4 separate regions of the Homo sapiens genome follow, and regions 1, 2 and 3 are each linked to region 4. The links are contacts of gene promoters, found by promoter capture Hi-C in human tissues and cell types (Jung and others, 2019). All regions are on one chromosome and are shown on one strand. The core of a region is centred on a gene start or on the middle of the fragment in contact, and the rest is flanking DNA. Distances in the headings are between cores, read along the strand shown. Region 1 has its middle 16 kb from the start of ALG10. Region 2 holds the start of ALG10 (ALG10 alpha-1,2-glucosyltransferase). Region 3 has its middle 110 kb from the start of ALG10. Region 4 holds the start of PKP2 (plakophilin 2).

Region 1 (3,421 bases), core at 554-3,053, 1.1 Mb after region 4:
AAATTTTGAACATGAATTTATTTAAGCCTCATAGAGATGCCCTAAGGCAAATGCTATTATGATCCCCATTTTTACTGACAAGGAAAATAAGACATAGGGAATTGAAACAGTTTACAAACAGGAAATGTGGCTCCAGAACATGCCCTCTTAACCAGGGCGCTATACTGATTCCTGCTAAACTTGCATCATCTGATGGCCTGTGCATCCAAAGAACTGAGGTTATTTTTAGGAAGAAAGAACAGTGCTCTGCTGTATACAGTGAGGAGCAAGGAAAGCACGTCCCACACACAGACCCACAGATAAATGGGTGTGGAGAGAAAAATAGTTATTTAGAGATGATAGCCAGGTTTCAGTTAAAACTAGAAGAATGGCTCTGTGAGACAGGCCCTCCACTCTCCTGTAGATCCTGTTGTAAGTGATGCAGAAGCCAGAGAGAAGGTTGCTCTCCATCGGAAACATGAGGAGTTTCGGAGACCTCCCTAAAATATTTGGCCTGAAAGGGTTTGAAGCCAGGAGGAGAGATGCAGTCTTAGGAGAAACGTTTCATGAGCTGTAGCAGGTACCCTATCAGTCTTTCTCAGTAAGTACTGTTCTATGTAATTTTTATATTTTCCTTGCAACGCTATCACTCTCTAAAGGTCTAGTGAAGAAATCAAATTTAGATGAAGAAACCTAGCTTGACCTAGAATCTTCACTGTGTGTGTGTGTGTGTGTGTGTGTGTGTGTGTCCGTGTGTGTGTAATGTATACATTGGGTCTTTGGGCCAAATACACTGTAAGGTTTCAGAGGTATAAACAGGCCCTGGGCTTTGGAGAACCATGGGAGGGGATGATCTTGATCTAAGTCAGTAGTTTTTACTTAGCCACATCTAGAAATCTATGTCTTGGTCATAAATTTTGTTCTTTGAAATGCAGGGAAATGTATCATAAAATGCAGGAAATGCAAGGAAAAGTAACACATTAAAGCTAATTGGTTATTAATATTTTAAGAGCATATGAGAATGTCATATTCTATTCCCTCCAGCTCTCCAACCATATCCCCGACACATACCCACACACTGCCTGCCCGCACGTAAGCACAAGTATTTCTGGGGATCATGAGCATGAGAACTTTAGGGGTATTGCTAGGAAAAGAAGGAAGAGAGTAAGTAGGAAGACTGAAGACAGAGAAAGGAACCACCAGAAAGAGTAGAAAAAAAGAGAGGAATCCTTTCTTCACATACCAGTGACTCTAAGAATACCTTTCTCCATTAAAATAATATCTCATCCAGGAGGCACGTTCAAATGAAATACACGTGGAATACTGATATGAAAAGACAGAAGAATATAATAGGATCTGAGTTGAAAGACCGTGCTTATCTCTTCACTTGTACTATAATAATTTACAGTGATGTTCTTTAGTTGGGGTAACTGTGATGGGCAACGCTGAAACCCTTTATGCCAATTTTGTTTTCAAAATGCATTGTCTTAAATTTTCCCTCAAGGTGGCACTCTTGGACAGCTTTTCCAGTTATTAGTCTGACAGGAACTTGGTACCATTTTACTTACCTTCATAATGTCACAGATGCTAGTGATTTTTTCATTTTTTTAAATGCATTCTTTGAACATTTTTAGCTTTAAGCAAATATATTTGCTTATTTTTGTCATTGAGCATTTTGAAAACATGTGGTTAGAAGCTTGAAGCAGATAATCATAGCTGCATTCTATTCCCCATAATTAAGAATACGTAAGGCCTGGCACAGTGGCTCACGCCTGTAATCCCAGCACTTTGGGAGGCCGAGGCGGGTGGATCACCTGAGATCAGGAGTTCGAGATCAGCCTGATCAACATGGAGAAACCCTGTCTCTACTAAAAATATAAAATTAGCCGGGCGTGGTGGTGCATGCCTGTAATCCCAACTACTCTGGAGGCTGAGACAGGAGAATCGCTTGAACCCGGGAGGCGGAGGTTGCGGTGAGCTGAGATCGTGCCATTGCACTCCAGCCTGGGCAACAGAGCGACTCCATCTCAAAAAAAAAAAAAGTATTTAGGGCCGGGCGCGGTGGCTCACACCTGTAATCCCAGCACTTTGGGAGGCCGAGGCGGGCGATCACGAGGTCAGGAGATTGAGACCATCCTGGCTAACACTGTGAAACCTCCTCTCTACTAAAAATACAAAAAAATCAGCCGGGGGTGGTGGCGGGCGCCTGTAGTCCCAACTACTCGGGAGACTGAGGCAGGAGAATGGCGGGACCCCGGGAGGCGGAGCTTGCAGTGAGCGGAGATCGCACCACTGCACTTCAGCCTGGGTGACAGAGCGAGACTCCGTCTCAAAAAAAAAAAGAATATGTAGAAACCTTGATATTTTCTCTTTCTTTCCAATTGGAATACCAGTCAAACCTGGAATTTATAAATAGTTTTAATAAATGTGGAATTTGTTTTATATATATATAGTAATATATAGAGAGTAATAAAAATATAGTAATGTATATATAGTAATAAAAGGCTTCCAAAAGCTTCTCTATGGGAAATTCTTGTTTCCCTTAATCAGGCCATTAGAAAAGCAGCCTGCCATTCTCTGATAGCTGTGCTATAGAGCAGGTTACTTGATAAGGAATGAAAGCAGTGATTCTATTTGTTATGTAATGTGAGTGACATGGAAGGTAAATTTTTTAAAATAGTCATGGATTTTAGCTTTCTGAAAGGAATGCAATTTGGAAGTTTCTCCAAATCTCCAAATGGTTTTGAGTTACATATAATGCAACCTGACACCTAGCTTGATGTTTGAATTCTGTGTAGCTAGAATGTTGATAGACTGGATCTTTTCTGTTTTGTAATGTTTGGTATTATACTGGACCTTTCCTTGTGTTAATTTTTTCTCTTTATTAACATATGAAAAATTCTGTGAACTATTGATCATCCAATGAGATTTTCTCCGTTTCAAAAGACAAATAATGCAATTTGGAAGACTGTAAATTTGTTTGCATGTAATCTGAATCTCTAGATATACTCTAATTTTTTTTCAGTAAATTCTGAGTTAAATGTTTATCATTACAATGTCAGAGGATTAACTTAATTTTTCTATCTTCCAAATCCAGTTTTCCTTCATCAAGAACAAATTTTCATCGAATTGAAATAATGGTGTAGTTTTTGGAAGAAAACTAGCTTATTATGAGAAATAATTAGCAGGCATCTAAGAAAAAAATTTTAATTGAATTTGGCTTCATATTTTTTAAGGGCTTTGTAATTTGGGCTTAATATTTGATAAGGGTAAATTAACCAAGATCAAAACCTTTAAAATATTCGAATTGATAACTATTTTGTAATTATTGAAATAACTTTTCTCTAATAAGTAAAGGAGAAATACATTGAACAAAATAACCAGCCAACTTTCTGCTACACACTAAATTTTGATAGACTGTCCTTGTCTAAAATAGTTATTC
Region 2 (3,117 bases), core at 309-2,808, 1.1 Mb after region 4:
AAATGGAGAGCATAAATGTCTAGTCTTGTTCTACTCCCTTTAAAAACGACCCACTATTTCTAGGGTGGGTCAGTAAGCTGCAGAGTATATATAACACGATTTAGCAGGTCAACAGGTCAGGAGCTAATTACTTGTAGATCACATCAACCTCTTGAAGACTGAATCATCTGGAGATGTGTTACAAGTGACTTAAACAGATAAGTACAGCATGGACTCAACAATAAAATGGGAGATAATGGTTAAAACAAAGCTAAGCATCACATCAGAGTAGGATCCTCACATGACTTTATTCCAGTAATGTAAATGTTCCCATCCCAGCCCTCATTCACCACTACTTCCTCTTATCATTGAGGAAACAGGCAGAGACAGAATGGAAAGGCAGTCAGCTTAATTTAAGAAACTTTCTTAAGTTTAGAAATACTGAATTAGTTTTAACCCAGAAAAAGAGCTCAATTGAGAACTCTGAGGTTTGCAACCTTAAATCCCGCCTAAATTCTGATATATTCCTGCCAAAGGCAACCTGATTGAGGTTACCTGAGAAATAGTTTTTCTACAAAACATGGCCAACCATGCTCAAGACAAAATTACAACACATAATTTATCTTCGGCATTCTTCAAATTATTTACCTCATCTCCTGCCCCCAGCACCTAATCCCAGAATACAGGAATTTGATGATGTCTACACAGCCTATAAAAGTCCACAAATTTAAGTGCCTACTGTGTGAAAGCCATTTTGGGGACTACAAACATAAAGGATGTATAATGCCACCCACTAAGATGTTCACGCTTATGATTTAGTAGGAAAAACAGAAGGCTGCCTTACAGATATTAACAACCAAATTTACAGGCACACCTAAAACATCCCGAATTCTAAAATATATATGTATTTTCCAAATCCTACAGGGTAATATGACTATGAAAGTGCACTAGGAATGTCAATTTAACTAAATCCTCTGAGAGCATCCACATTTTGAAAGAGTTCTCTTTTAACCTAAACAAACAAACGAACAAACACTCCTCTCACTGAAGTTCATTCGGCATTGACGGGTCTCTGGTTCTTCAAGTTTTCATCTAAAACTCTCAGTCTTTGCTATCACAACCAACGCACCCTTCCTACACTCCAAAGTTGATGGAATGAAATGTCTTGGAATTGAGGGTTTAATTAATTCGGATCACTGGAGAGAAATAACAGAAATAACGGGGGAAAAAATGTGTCCATTTTAGGGCTTGGAATTGGAAACGTGGGGAAACGTCGCCACCTTCTGGTAAGTGATGGAAGTGAGCAGGAAAAAAGATCCAAGCTAAGAAGCGGCTTTTTTTTTTTTTTTTTTTTTTTTTTTTTTCTAAGCAGCAAGCCACGCACCTCCCGCGCTGGCGAAATCCGAGACCCGCCCCTTCCGGAAGTTTTGACACTTTGTGCGCCCCGGGCAATGCGATTGAGAGGGTAATCATCCGGTCCGTTATCTAAACCCGTCACTCCGGGAAACAGCGACCCGATCTTTCCGGATCCGCGCTCTCCCAGCATCCTTTGCCTTCCGGTATGTGGCCCCGTCTGGCTAGTCCCGCCTAGCGCGCCCATTTCGAGCCCAAGTTTCCAGCTCGGGTTTCCAGGCTCAGAATTTTCCAGGAGTAGGTTCTTGGGCAGTGGCTGTGGGAGCTGGAATGGCGCAGCTGGAAGGTTACTATTTCTCGGCCGCCTTGAGCTGTACCTTTTTAGTATCCTGCCTCCTCTTCTCCGCCTTCAGCCGGGCGTTGCGAGAGCCCTACATGGACGAGATCTTCCACCTGCCTCAGGCGCAGCGCTACTGTGAGGGCCATTTCTCCCTTTCCCAGGTGGGGTCCCCAACCTGTCCCCACCCCAGGAGAGGCCTGAGAGGTCCCAGCGTCCCCACGTCCTCCCATCCTTAGACTTCACTCGTCCTGTTCCACCCCCTCAAGCCTCAGAACATGAAAGAAACTGGGTATAGTCTTTTGTTCCTGTCTCTGAGATCTGTGAAATATTTATTAAATGAATGAATAAACAGCAGATCTGTCCTCCAGGAAGGAGTGATCTGGGAGAATACTCAACGGGGAACTGAGCCCTCCTCTTGGCAGCTGACGATATCGATCCCACTTTGTCTTTCCTTGTTTTAGGATTAAAGGCATTCGGGTGCTCCTTGGAAATACCAGAAAACTTTCCTTTAGCTCACCTGTCAAGCACCTCACTGTGCATTTTAGGGGTGGGATAGGGTGGACTGGAGGGATCTTCAGCTACCAAAAAGTGACAATTTATAATCACAAATTCCTTCCCTGGGTATTTTTAGTGAACTGTTAACTGGATAAACTGGCAACCAGTCAAGTCACATCATTTTTGAGTATATATTTGACTGTGCAAGTATGTACATATAAATATCAAAATAAGCATCCCCTGCTTCTCTGGTGACACAATATAGGGTACTGGCTAGAAATATAAAGTCTGTTTTAGAGAAAGATCTGATCTTAAATCTTGGTGCTGTGATTTACTAGTTTTGTGATCTTGGAGATGTTCTGAGTTTCAGAAATTCAGGTTACTCATCTGCAAAATGACAATAATCTTTACTATAGGGCATATTGTAACGTTAATACAGAGGGTTTGGCAACAATTTCTGTCTCAGTTTATGTTAGCTGTCATCATGGAGCCTGTGGTCCAAATGTTTTCCTAAACTTAAGAGTCCCAAACAATGTTTCCATGCTTTTAAAAACTGGAACATTTGCAGTTTATTTATCAAAATAAAGGCTTTTAAAGAACATTTCTTGGAAAATAGAAATAGATTTTAAGTTGTTGTTGTTTATTGGTTGCTGCTACCTGAACCATCACTAAGCTGGTCCGGGGGCAAAAAATAAGAAAAACGAATCCTGTTCTGCCAAGGACTTACTTAATCTTGTCATAGAATAACTTCTCAAAATTTCTGATTGTTGCTGGAGATGAGACTTGGGCTTGACATATTTGTGCCTGTCTTGTTCCTATTACCTCTTGCTTTTACTTCATTTTCTTTCATTTTAAAGTGGGATCCCATGATTACTACATTACCTGGCTTGTACCTGGTGTCAATTGGAGTGATCAAACCTGCCATTTGGATCTTTGGATGGTCTGAACAT
Region 3 (3,284 bases), core at 311-2,810, 1.0 Mb after region 4:
GAGGTACATTCCTTTAATACCTAGTTTGTTGAGAGTTTTTAACATTTTGAATTTTATCAAAAGACTTTCCTGCATCTATTGATATAATCATGTGGTTTTTGTCTTTAGTTCTCTTTATGTGATGAATCACATTTATTGATTTGTGTATGTTGAAGCAACCTTACATTGCAGGGATAAAACCTACTTGATTGTGGTGGATTAGCTTTTTAATGTGCTGCTGGATTTGATTTTCTAGTACATTTTTTAGGATTTTTGCATCAATGTTCATCAAGGGTATTGCCCTGAAGTTTTTTGTTGTTGTTGCTGTGTCTCTGACAGGTTTTGGTATCAGGATGATGTTAGACTCATAGAATGAGTTGGGGGGATTCCCTCCTTCTCAAATTTTTGGAATAGTTTCAGTAGGAATGTTACCAGCTCTTCTTTGTTCATCTGGTAGAATTCAGCTGTAAGTCCATCTGGTTCTAGGCTTCTTTTGGTTGGTAGACTATTTATTACTGATTCAATTTTAGAACTTGTATTGGTCTGTTTAGGATTCATTTTTCTTCCTGGATCAGTTTTGAGAGTGAGTGTTTCCAGGTGTGTATCCTTTTCTTCTAGATTTTCTCATTTGTGTGCATAGAGGTGTTTATAGTAGTCTCTGATAGTTAGTGGTATTTCTGTGGAGTCAGTGGTACCATTCCTTTTGTTGTTTCTAATTATGTTTATTTGGATCTTTTCTCTTTTATTCTTTATTAGTCTAGCTAGGGCTTTAATTACCTTATTAATATTTTCTTATTTTATATTATACTTTACGTTCTAAGGTACATGTGCACAACTTGCAGGTTTGTTAAATAGGTATACATGTGCCATGTTGGTTTGCTGCGCCTGTCAACTCATCATTTACATTAGGTTTTTCTCCTAACACTATCCCTCCCCCAGTCATTTACATTAGGTATTTCTCCTAACGCTAGCCCCCCCACCCCTTGACAGGCCCCAGTATGTGATGTTCCCCTCCCTGTGTCCGTGTGTTCTCATTGTTCACCTCCCACTTATGAGTGAGAACATGTGGTGTTTGGTTTTCTGTCCTTGTGATATTTTGCTGAGAATGTATATGTGTCACTTTTTTTTTTTCATCCAGCCTATTATTGATGGACATTTGCGTTAGTTCTAAGTCTTTGATATTGTGAATAGTGCCGCAGTAAACATACGTGTGCATGTGTCTTTATAGTAGCATGATTTATAATCCTTTGGGTATATACCCAGTAATGGGACTGCTGGGTCAAATGGTATTTCTAGTTCTAGATACTTGAAGAATTGCCACACTGTCTTCCACAGTGGTTAAACTAATTTAGACTCCCAACAACAGTGTAAAAGCGTTCCCATTTCTCCACATCCTCTGCAGCATCTGTTGTTTCCTGACTTTTTAATGATCACTATTCTAACTGGCACGAGATAGTATCTCATTGCGGTTTTGATTTGCATTTCTCTGAGGACAAGTGATGATGAGCGTTTTTTCATATGTCTCTTGGCTGCATACATGTCTTCTTTTGAGACGTGTCTGTTCATACCCTTTGTTCACTTTTTGATGGTTTTTTTTTTCTTGTAAATTTGCTTAAGTTCTTTGTAGATTCTGGATATTAGCCCATTGTCAGATGGATAGATTGCAAATATTTTCTCCCATTCTGTAGGTTCCCCTTTCACTCTGATGGTAGTTTCTTTTGCTATGCAGAAGCTCTTTAGTTTAATTAGATCCCATTTGTCTATTTTGGTTTTTCTTGCCATTGCTTTTGGTGTTTTAGTCATGAAGTCTTTGCCCATGCCTATGTCCTAAATGGTATTGCCTAGGTTTTCTTCTAGGGTTTTTATGGTTTTAGGTCTTACATTTAAGACTTTAATCCATCTTGAGTTAATTTTTATATAAGGTGTAAGGAAGGGACCCAGTTTCAGCTTTCTACATATGGCAAGCCAATTTACCGAAGACCATTTATTAAATAGAGAATCCTTTCCCCATTGCTTGTTTTTGTCAGGTTTGTCAAAGATCAGATGGTTGTAGATATGTGATGTTATTTCTGAGCCCTCTGTTCTGTTCCATTGGTCTATATACCTGTTTTTGTACCAGTACTGTGCTGTTTTGGTTACTGTAGACTTGTACTATTATAGTTTGAAGTCAGGTAGCCTGATGTCTCCAGCTTTGTTCTTTTTGCTTAGGATTGTCTTTGCTATGCGGGCTCTTTTTGGTTCCATATGAAATTTAAAGTAGTTTTTTTCCAATTCTGTGAAGAAAGTCTTTGGTAGCTTGATGGGGATAGCCTTGAATCTATAAATTACCGTGGGCAGTATGGCCATTTTCACGATATTGATTCTTCCTTTCCATGAGCATGGAATGTTCTTCCATTTGTTTGCGTCCTCTTTTATTTCATTGAGCAGTGGTTTGTAGTTCTCCTTGAAGAGGCCTTTCACATCCTTTGTAAGTTGGATTCCTAGGATTTTATTCTTTATGTAGTAATTGTGAATGGGAGTTCACTCATGATTTGGCTCTCTGTTTGCCTGTTATTAGTGTATAGGAATGCTTGTGATTTTTGCACGTTGATTTTGTATCTTGAGAGTTTACTGAAGTTGCTTATCAGCTTAAGGAGATTTTTGGCTGGGACTATGGGATTTTCTAAATATGCAATCATGTCATCTGCAAACAGAGACAATTTGACTTCCTCTTTTCCCAGTTGAATACCCTTTATTTCTTTCTCTTGCCTGATTGCTCTGGCCAGAACTTCCAGTACTGCGTTGAATAGGAGTGGTGAGAGATGGCATCCTTGTCTTCTGCCAGTTTTCGAAAGGAATGCTTCCAGTTTTTGCCCATTCGGCATGATATGGGCTGTGGATTTGTCATAAATAGCTCTTATTATTTTGAGATACGTTCCATCAATACCTAGTTTATTGAGAGTATTTAGCATGAAGCACTGTTGAATTTTATCAAAGGTCTTTTCTGCATCTACTGAGATAATCATGTGGCTTTTGTCATTGGTTCTGTTTATGTGATGGGTTACATTTATTGATTTGCATATGTTGAACCACGCTTGCATCCCAGGCATGAAGCTGACTTAATAGTGGTGGATAAGCTTTTTGATGTGCTGCTGGATTCAGTTTGCCAGTATTTTATTGATGATTTTGCATCAATGTTCATCAGGGATATTGGCCTAACATTCTCTTTTTTTGTTGTGTCTCTGTCAGGCTTTAGTATTAGGATGATGCTGGCCCCATAAAATGAGTTAGGGAAGATTTCCTCTTTTTCTATTGATTGGAATAGT
Region 4 (2,972 bases), core at 211-2,710:
ATTGACTACGTCATCCTTTAGGATTCTTTTACACACACAGTACAGCCTCCCAGACTCTGCTGTTTGAAATCTCTGGTCTGGCCTGTTAGAATTTTTCTGTTTTCCTAATAGAAACTAGAATGGGTTAGCCTACATTCGCCAATGCCCAAGTTACTTCATACAGAAACAACTGAACGTTGCAGGAAACAGATATTCCAACTTAATTGCTCAATTTCTTTCCTCTTCTTTTTGCTATAAGCCAACATAGTGCTTTTATAATGCAAACTCACATACACAGCAACAAGAAGTAAAACAAGGGTCACTGAGTTGATCCCATCACCTGACTTCAGCAGGGGAGAAAAGGATACATCATGATCTCTAATTTTCACAAGTGGCTTGCCATCTTCTTTCCCTTCCACCTCCCCCGTCTATCAATCATGAACATAGTGTGCATGTGTGTGCTTACACCCCTTTCACCTTCGGGTTTAATTTTTTGGAGGGATCAGACTTGCATCACGCCCGCACTGGTGGGGGTAGGAAGCGCAGCTAGGCGGGCACGGCTGTTGCCGGCAGGGCCAAAGTCCCCTACCTCCTCCTCGGCGTGTTTGTTCCCTGGACCAAAGCCTCCTAACTACTTTTCTTCACTCCCTAGATCCACCACTCGCCTCCCACACAGGGTGGAGCGCCCCGAAGTACTTGCATAAGACAGCACAATCCCAATTTATAGGTTGTAGGAGCGCCAGTGCTGTCGGTTTTTTTCCCCAAGATATTTATGGGGGTCATTAATTATTTAACAAATCTAATAAAATTGAAGGGCTCCTTCTCCCAGAAAAAGATCGTACACACCAAAAATTCTGCATAGCATCTCAAGGTGTTTATAGACTCCCTGAACCTTCAAATTAAGTCCGCACCAGTGAGGGGCGCGGACCGGCGGAGTAGAAAAAGAAAGGGGTGAAATCTTGAAGTGAGTTAGTTAACATTGATAGATATGTACAATATTTAATATACATAGGTACCTATATGACAAAGCTGAGTAATAGGTTATGGAAAAGAGTGCTTTCCACAAGCAAGTCGGTCATACCGAAGACGGCGAGCAACAGGTGGGCAGAACACGGGGTCCCGCACTCCCAGCACGCGGGGTGAGGGCGGGATAGGAGGAGGTGACCGGGTGTGGGGCAGGGGGCGGCGCCGGGGAGCGGCGGGCTCCACTCACCGTTGCCCACGGAGCTGCGGCCCTTCCGGGCGAGGGTCTGCTGCACCTGCTCCTGGATCCGCAGGCTCTTGACTGTCTGGCCGCCGCGGCCGCTGCTCCCCGCCAGCTTCAGCTTGGCCTCGGAGGGCAGCGCCAGGCTGGAGCTGTCCAGTTGTCCCAGGATCTGCTGGCCCAGGACGGTCCGGATGTAGCCGTACTCAGCTGGGGCGCCGGGGGCTGCCATGGGGCCGGTGGGGGCGACCGAGCTGCTCGCCTGCCTCTGGACTCGCGGGCGAAGCCGCCACGGAGCTGGGGGCGCTGGCGCGAGCCCCGCCCCGCTCGAGTCCGGCCCCGCCCCTGGCCCGCCCCCCGCGCCGGTGAGAGGCCCGGGCCGGGGGGGAGCTCGGCCTCGTGGGCCGGACGCCCGGCCTTCCCTGAGGAGGGGGCGCGGCTCCGGCCGGGCACGCGCAGTCGGGCCCGGGGGCGGGGGCGGGGGCGGGCCGGACCCGCTGAGCGCGCGGACACCTGGAGACTTGTACCCGCCCGCGGGGAGGTGGGGAGAGGGGCGCGGTTCGCCTGGGGTCGCGCACGTTGTCGGAGTCCCAGCGGATACCGCCTGCCGGGGCCGCGCCCCGCTCTGCCCACGCCCCGCGCTGGACAGGATGGATTTCCGCTCGATGCAGGGAGGGGCTGCCCTGCAGGCAGGTGAGCCCTCGAGAGTCACTCCTGTTCTTGGACTGAGGCTTGCCTCCGGGATCCCCGAGCGAGTAGTATGTCTGGTTAGTCAGGCTTTGTCGCACTGTTGGAAACGTTTCCTGGTTTTCCTGGACCTGAGGGTGAGAAAGGGCTATTTGGTCAGGCGGAAAGGGCAATATGAGGGAAATGTGCCAAGAAGATAACGTGTGAAATAAAAGACTTTCTAAAGAGAGTGTTTTTTTTCTTAGTACAACGTCAGGACTATGTACTTTTTGCACAGATGCAGTCCCAGAAACATATGTTCTTCCTCATTGAGAGCTTCTGTTTTCTCTTGGATACACAAATTGTACCCAGTACTCTTGCTAACCCATTCCTCTCTTACGAACACACCCACACAGAGAAACTCCAACAAGAGGCTCTAGAGAAGAAATGAATTTTAATAGACGATGCTTTTTAAATAGCCCTGCTAACGTTGATTAAGTCCTCTTTATTACAGGCTCTTTGTAGAGAGATCCACGGAGAGGGCCTCCAACTTTCAATCGAATCTTCCACAACTTGTATTTATCGTGCTATTAATTATGTTTCACCGCAGTTGACTACTGAGAACTTGAGAGCTAAGCTCAACAGAAAGGATCCTTGACCTTAAAGTTTACAACCAAAGCCACTTGTCCTGATTTGCCTCTTTGGACTTAAGAGGCAGAAAGAAAAACATGTATCCCTGGTATTAAGATAATATTCCCTTTGATTGCTTGGGTTTGTATGTTCACTTTCCCTCAAATCACTCAATTGCTGCAAAACCCCACTTACTCAAGTCTGAAGTGTTTGGAGAACGCAGCTTCCCTCGTCTTTGTTTTCCTACCCACACCCTTCTGCCTTTAGACACACACTGAATGCTTAGACACACAATGCACAGGTATATGGCCTCCCTTTTTACATGAGCGTCCAGGGAGTGAAGAGGAAACCAAAGGACTGAAAGCGTGGACAACAGAGTAGTGACAGTTCCGCCACCCTTTGTCAGCAGGCCACATGGCTAAGTGGGAGCCATATGGATGTGAGTCCTGGAAGCAATTGCTCCCACCCCAATAGAATGGACCACTATTTAGGC

Evidence for each region. The method cuts DNA at HindIII sites, captures the fragments that hold promoters and counts their contacts. A contact is called where the count stands out against the background at its distance.
Region 1: a contact is called between a fragment that was not itself captured here and the fragment with the promoter of PKP2 in region 4, in 1 of the 25 tissues and cell types used here (dorsolateral prefrontal cortex).
Region 2: the fragment with the promoter of ALG10 here is called in contact with the fragment with the promoter of PKP2 in region 4 in 2 of the 25 tissues and cell types used here (mesenchymal stem cells and mesendoderm cells).
Region 3: a fragment that was not itself captured here is called in contact with the fragment with the promoter of PKP2 in region 4 in 1 of the 25 tissues and cell types used here (dorsolateral prefrontal cortex).

Annotation. Positions count from the first base shown.
Region 1 is chr12:34,037,069-34,040,489 of GRCh38, forward strand. No RefSeq gene overlaps it. Among named protein-coding and RNA genes, the nearest start is that of ALG10, 16 kb to the left of the region's middle. The HindIII fragment of the contact is 3,582 bases long and covers 13-3,421 here.
Region 2 is chr12:34,020,938-34,024,054 of GRCh38, forward strand. It overlaps ALG10 (ALG10 alpha-1,2-glucosyltransferase), which reads left to right and starts at 1,559. Exons shown (of 3, transcript NM_032834.4): 1 at 1,559-1,833; 2 at 3,025-3,117. The coding sequence starts at 1,663. RefSeq lists silencers at 1,316-1,465, 1,379-1,565. The HindIII fragment of the contact is 12,723 bases long and covers 1-3,117 here.
Region 3 is chr12:33,914,192-33,917,475 of GRCh38, forward strand. No RefSeq gene overlaps it. Among named protein-coding and RNA genes, the nearest start is that of ALG10, 110 kb to the right of the region's middle. The HindIII fragment of the contact is 4,943 bases long and covers 1-3,284 here.
Region 4 is chr12:32,895,317-32,898,288 of GRCh38, forward strand. PKP2 (plakophilin 2) reads right to left here and starts at 1,461. Exons shown (of 13, transcript NM_001005242.3): 1 at 1,193-1,461. The coding sequence starts at 1,415. RefSeq lists silencers at 1,460-1,569, 1,770-1,869. The HindIII fragment of the contact is 8,511 bases long and covers 1-2,972 here.